2 separate regions of the Homo sapiens genome follow, and region 1 is linked to region 2. Evidence: promoter capture Hi-C in 16 types of primary human blood cells and fetal thymus (Javierre and others, 2016). All regions are on one chromosome and are shown on one strand. Each heading gives the region's core, a stretch centred on a gene start or on the middle of the fragment in contact. The rest is flanking DNA. Distances are from core to core; before and after follow the strand shown. Region 1 has its middle 55 kb from the start of XAGE1B. Region 2 holds the start of GPR173 (G protein-coupled receptor 173).

Region 1 (3,223 bases), core at 42-2,541, 480 kb after region 2:
TAAACACCCTAAATCTGGCTACACTTCTGCCAATAGAATATGCAGAGCATGGGAAGCCCCCGTTATGTGCCCCAGGGTATCATTGCTGTGTAGAAACAGTAGATGAAGTCTTTTCAAGCCGGAAAGACCTAAAAGACCAGCCCCTAAAGGACCCAGACATAGAGTATTTTACTGATGGAAGTAGCTTCATATCCGAAGGTATCAGAAAGGCTGGATATGCAGTAGCCACACTGAACTCAGTCGCTGAGGCCTGCCCTTTACCAGTAGGAACCTCTGCACAGAAGGCAGAACTAATAGCTCTCATAAGAGCGCTACTTCTAGCAAAAGGAAAGTCAGTGAATATCTATACTGACTCAAAATATGCCTTTGCTACCTTGCATGCTCATGGAGCCATCTACAAGGAGAAAGGACTGTTAACTACTGAAGGGAAAGAAATAAAGAACAAAAAAGAAATAGAGCAGCTCCTAGAGGCAGTATGGACTCCAAAGAAAGTAGCATTAATTCATTGTAATGGACATCAAACAGGAGGAAGTAATGAGGCTACAGGAAACAGGAAAGTAGACAGGGAAGCAAAAAGGGCTGCAATAACAAAAATGACAGAAAAAAGAGAGACTTATGTCATGCCCTTATTAGAACCTCCCCTTGCAGAAACTCCTAACTACACCTCCAGTGAAAAGGCATGGTTCGCACAGGAAAACGGGGATTATCAAAGAAAGGAGGCTGGTGGAAGTTTTCAGACGGGAGGCTTGCCATCCCAGAAGCCGTCGCCCCTCGACTTATAAAGCAACTTCACCAAGGAACACAGATAAGGAAGACAGCCTTAGAAACTCTTGTAGGGTGATACTTCTTTGTACCACACCTGACTGCCGTCACAGGAGCCATCTGCGAGCAATGTGTCATATGTGCTCAAAATAACCCCAGACAAGGGCCCACTCGGCCCCCAGGAATTCAAGAAACAGGAGCAGTTGCCATGTGAAAACCTGCTTGTAGAATTTACCCAGCTGCCTTGGGCTGGAGACTATCAGTACATGTTAGTGTTAGTCTGCACCTTTTGAAGGTGGGTTGAAGCATTTCCCACCAGAACAGAGAAGGCTCGAGAAGTAACCAGGATACTACTAAAAGACATTATTCCTAGATTTAGACTGCCACTAACTTTAGGCTCAGATAACAGACCAGCCTTTGTGGCAGAAGTAGTGCAGCAGTTAACCCAAATGTTAAACGGAAGCTGCGTACTGCCTATCATCCACAGAGTTCCAGAAAAGTTGAAAGGATGAACCAAACACTGAAACAACTGTGGAAGAAGTTTTGCCAGGAAACTCATTTAAGGTGGGATCAGGTGTTGCCAATGGTCCTTCTCTGAGTCAGGTGTACCCCCACTAAATTAACTGGGTATTCACCCTATGAGATAGTGTATGGCCGACCACCCCAACTCATAGCTCAAATAAGAGGAGATTTAAAAGAAATAGGAGAACTAACTCTAAGGAGACAAATGCAGGCATTAGGTGAAGTAATGCAAGAAGTACAAGGGTGGGTAAGACAGAGAATACCTGTTAGTCTTACAGATGCAGTACAACCCTTTCAACCCAGAGACTCTGTATGGGTTAAACGTTGGAACCCCATCACCCTCAGGCCTTTATGGGATGGCCCCCATGTTGTGATCATGTATCGGGGGAAATTCAGCCAGATATCAGGCGAAATTCACCCCCAATATTTCACGTAGTTTCTTTTCTATTTTCCCTAAGTGTCAGCCGGTCTGAGAAATAAAGGGACAGAGTACAAAAGAGAGAAATAAAGGGACAGAGTACAAAAGAGAGAAATTTTAAAGCTGGGTGTCCGGGGGACACATCACATGTCAGCCGGTTCCATGATGCCCCCTGAGCCGTAAAACCAGCAAGTTTTTATTAGTGATTTTCAAAAGGGGAGGGAGTGTACAAGGCGAGGTCACAGGACCACAGGACCAGGGCGAAATTAAAATTGCTAATGAAGTTTTGGGCACGCGTTGTCATTGATAACATCTTATCAGGAGCCAGGGTTTGAGAGCAGACAACCGGTCTGACCAAAATTTATTAGGTGGGAATTTCCTCGTCCTAATAAGCCTGGGAGCGCTACAGGAGACTGGGGCTTATTTCATCCCTACAGCTTCGACCATAAAAGATGGCCGCCCCCTGAAGCGGCCATTTTAGAGGCCTACCCTCAGGGATGCGTTCTCTTTCTCAGGGATGTTCCTTGCTGAGAAAAAGAATTCAGTGATATTTCTCCCATTTGCTTTTGAAAGAAGAGAAATATGGCTCTGTTCTGCCCGGCTCACCGGCAGTCAGAGTTTAAGGTTATCTCTCTTGTTCCCTGAACATTGCTGTTATCCTGTTCTTTTTTCAAGGTGCCCAGATTTTATATTGTTTAAACACACATGCTCTACAAACAATTTGTGCAGTTAAAGCAATCATCACAGGGTCCTGAGGTGACATACATCCTCCTCAGTTTACGAAGATGATGGGATTAAGAGACTAAAGTAAAGATAGGCATAGGAAATCACAAGGGTATTGATTGGGGAAGTGATAAGTGTCCATGAAATCTTAGCAATTTATGTTCAGAGATTGCAGTAAAGACAGGCGTAAGAAATTATAAAAGTATTAATTTGGGGAACTAATAAATGTCCATGAAATCTTCACAATCCATGTTCTTCTGCCATGGCTTCAGCCAGTCCCTCCATTCGGGGTTCCTGACTTCCCACAACAATCATGTCTACCCCTACCACTGTTAAAGTTGCAGGTATCACACCTTGGGTTCATCATAGCCTGCTGAAACCTGCAGCCCCAGCTCCAGACTGGTGGACAAGTAAGCAAGATCCAGATAATCCAGCTGGACTGATCTTGCAGAAAGACCAAGGTGCGTCAGAGAAGGACGACTGCCCTGCTCCGACCACACTGGAGGCTGGTCGGTCCATGTATGGCTGAAGCTTGAAGAAACACCAAACCTTGCTCTAGTCACACAACCGGAAGCTGAGTAGTCTACACATGGCCGAAGCCTGAGGAAGCCAGTGCCAGATAAGTAAATGTGGATAGAATTTGCCAGTGTAGTTATTCTTTTGCTTGTACTAATTGTCTTACTGTCATGTTACCTTTGCAATTGCTGTCGAACTTGCTGCCCAGGAGGATGCCCGTGCATAGTCTAAACCTGATTGTACTAGTAGCAAAAATGCTAACAGCTGTCCAAGGAAACCAAG
Region 2 (3,202 bases), core at 552-3,051:
TCCCTACACACACCCATCAGGGAAGGGTTACCAGTCTCTTTGACAGATGGGAAAACTGAGGTTCGGTAAGTGGCATGCTTCCACTAAAGTTGCAGAGCTAGTAGTTGGGGGAAGTGTCCCTGGGAGGATCCATGTTCTCCATGTACCAGGCTTTCCTGCCCTTCCAGATATATGGACCTCCGGCTACTGGGCACAAGGCCACAAGATCCGGGGGGTCTCAGACACAACATGGACATCTGAAACAGAGACAGAGAGCCTTGTGGTGGAGGCTGGGTCCCACACTGTAGGGACAACCATGTTGTTCCTGGCCCCTGCAGGTTGTCATGGGATTGGTCTTTGCCCCCACAGAACCATCAGGCAGCCTAGGGCCTGGAAGTGCTCCCCACCACCACTTCACTGTCCTTTAGCCCTACAGTGACTTCCTCCCCCTAGCTGGGAATCGGCAACATCTTCAGTGGTGAGTGAGCAAAACTCTGCTACCTGTAGGGAGAGATGGGGAGGTGGGGAGGGTGGAAGGAAGGAAGGAAGGAAAGGAGGAAAGAAGGAGTGGGGGATGGTCTGGGCTGGGAGCAGCTTCTCTGTCATGTCTACCCACCTGCTTGCTACCCAGGTGCACACACACACACACACACACACACACACACACACACACACCCGGCCAGCAGGCCAGGGATCCTGGAGGAGAGTGGAGGAGGAGGGAGAGGGAGAGGAGCAGCCGCAAGAGGCTGAGCCTGCCCAGGGTGCAGGCATTGTGAAGGGAACACGGCCGCCGGGCTCCCAGGCATCCCTTCCACAGCCAGCACACAAGGAAAGATTAACACAGCCTCATGCCCAAACGCAACCATGATGATAAAAACAGACCCTGTGAGGGGAAACAGGTGGTGGTTCCCTTTCTCATGGGACATTTGGGATTGGGGAAGATGGGGGGAAGATGAGGAGTCCCCAGGCTTGGGTACCAAGGAGCCCCTTGATGGAGCAGAAAGAGACTAACAGAGTCAGACAGAGACAGAGAGCATGGCAGTGATGGAGACTCTGAAGTATGTGTGGGGAGACAGAACAGAAGTCCCAGCCCCCCATCCTTGGTGGAGGGATGCTGACTGCTTACCTTGGCTCTCTCAGCAGGGATGTCTTGGAATCCACGATGGGGCTCAAGCTGTCTCACCCAGGTAAATCACAGCCCGGGCCACATTGTGGGACCCTCAGTGATCTGGCGGCCAGTGACACTCCTGCTTCTGTTGCCGTGGATACAGCCGGGCTGGTCTAAATCGCAGGCATCAGGGAAAGCAGGCACCGGAGGGGTGCACTGGGTAGGGCTGGGGGTGTTGGGGAACACCAGGTGGGCAGCACACAGCCTTGGGGTGTCCAACTAGCTGGCAGGTGGGGGTCCCGGCAGGTGCTTCCTCCACTATACACTCCCACTCCCATCTTCATGCCACTGCCAAGCTGGGAGGGGGGCCAGTGCTGGCCCCTGCTACCCGTCTGCCTGCCTGGCTGCCGGTCCCCCTACCCCCCCCACCCCCCACCCCCCCCCTCCGTCTGCCTGCTGGCCGCCGCCTTTTGTCCTCAGAAGACACGGTCCCCGCGGGGCCTCTGCCAAGCCTCCAGCAGATGCTCAGGGTCCGGGGCTCCTCCCTGGGAGCACACGGGCCATGGCCTGGGAGAGCCCCAGGTTGGGGGGGCTCTCATCCAGGCTCACCCCGCTCCCCGGGCCTGGCGGGGATGGGGAAGAGGTGCAGGTCCACAGCCAGAGGCAGCAGCAGAGGTGGTGTTGGGGAGGGGATGGACGCCAGAAAGAGGGGGTGGGGTGGAGAGAGAGGCTGGCCTGATAGCCGTGTCCCGGGTTTTAGATCCGGGTTGAGGAGGGTGGCTCAGAGCATCCGAGGGGGGTCCTCATGCAAAACGAGGGCACCAAGGGCCTGCCAGAGGGACCCTCCTGGCCTGGGAACCACCCCGGTGCACACAAATCCAGGTCCCACGATGCTGGGGACACCCAGCCTGGATAGAGCATCAGTGGGGAGTCCGGGGCCCTAAGCTGGACCCCATCAGGCCTGTCCGTCCCCCCTCTCCTCGATTTGCACGGTCCCTGCCTCAGGGGCGGGCGGAGGAGGAGGGAGGCAGGGAGGGAGAGGGAGGGAAGGAGGAAGGCTGAGCAGGCAGGGAGACTCCCAGCTGCCAGCCTGGTCCTCCCTGGGGCGGGGCGGGGAGCGGGGGGGGGGGCGGGGGGTGCTGGCGAGGCCAGGGAGCAGCCGGCTGGCTGACTGGGTGGGGACGCTGGCGTGGCGGCTGTGCTGCCAGGACAATAGCTGGCTGGGGAAGTCAGGCTCGGGCCTTTCTGAGATGCTCGAGAGAGGCATGAGTGGAGGTGGGGAGAGATGGCCAAGAGGCTGCTGAGAGAGCAACTCACATGGGCTACAAGTGCAGAGGAGGCAGGGCATAGAGGACGCTAGGATCTGGGTCGGGACAAAGGTCCGGCGAAAGTTTCTCAAAAGCTTTGGGCTGGGAGGCATGCTTAGGGCCCGGAGAGGTGGGATTCATAAACTGATTTAGAATGGGGTTCTATGGGCATTTTCCCTGCAAGGCCTGGAGGTTGGCTGGGGGGTTGGGGTGGGAAAGGAGCGCTGCCCAACTCTGAACAGCCCCTCTCAGGATATCTCCTGTGCCATCCCCACTTTCTCGGGGCCAGCAGACAGGCAGAACCCATACTTAAAGCCATGTCCCAGGACAACAGAATAGGAGAGGTGAGGAGAACGCTTGGTAGGCAGAGATATGAAGACAAGGAAAAAAATATTTGTTTCAAATATGATTAAATTGGGACCAAATGATGCTTCAGTGGTTCCCCTAAGTTACAGCATTCAAGAATTCAAATTATCTTGATATAAGAAATTGTGTTTTATTTCCTTTCTTCCTTCATCCATTGGTTCCTTCATTTATGACAAATGGTTTTATGTTAGGCCCAGTGCTGGGCACTAACAGTACCGGGTGACTCAGACCTATGCTCTCTGCCCTTAGGAAATGCAGGCTCTGCTACCAGACTGTGGACCTGGAACCCACTTGCATCTGAATCCCCTGGAGAACTTGTAAAGTGTAGATACCCAAGCCTACCTCCCAGAAATACTAATCTAGGAGGTTTTCAGATGGGGCTTCAAAACCTGCCTTTTGACAAGGCCCTCCGGTGGTCATTTTTATGCCCACATGCTTTGGG

The links. Contacts are between HindIII fragments. The CHiCAGO score rates a contact against its expected background, and 5 or more counts as called.
Region 1: a contact is called between a fragment that was not itself captured here and the fragment with the promoter of GPR173 in region 2, in 1 of 17 cell types (M2 macrophages). The highest score is 5.2, in M2 macrophages.

What each region holds. Positions count from the first base shown.
Region 1 is chrX:52,570,841-52,574,063 of GRCh38, reverse strand. No RefSeq gene overlaps it. Among named protein-coding and RNA genes, the nearest start is that of XAGE1B, 55 kb to the right of the region's middle. The HindIII fragment of the contact is 3,334 bases long and covers 1-2,958 here.
Region 2 is chrX:53,047,388-53,050,589 of GRCh38, reverse strand. It overlaps GPR173 (G protein-coupled receptor 173), which reads right to left and starts at 1,801. Exons shown (of 2, transcript NM_018969.6): 1 at 1,106-1,801. The HindIII fragment of the contact is 17,268 bases long and covers 1-2,491 here.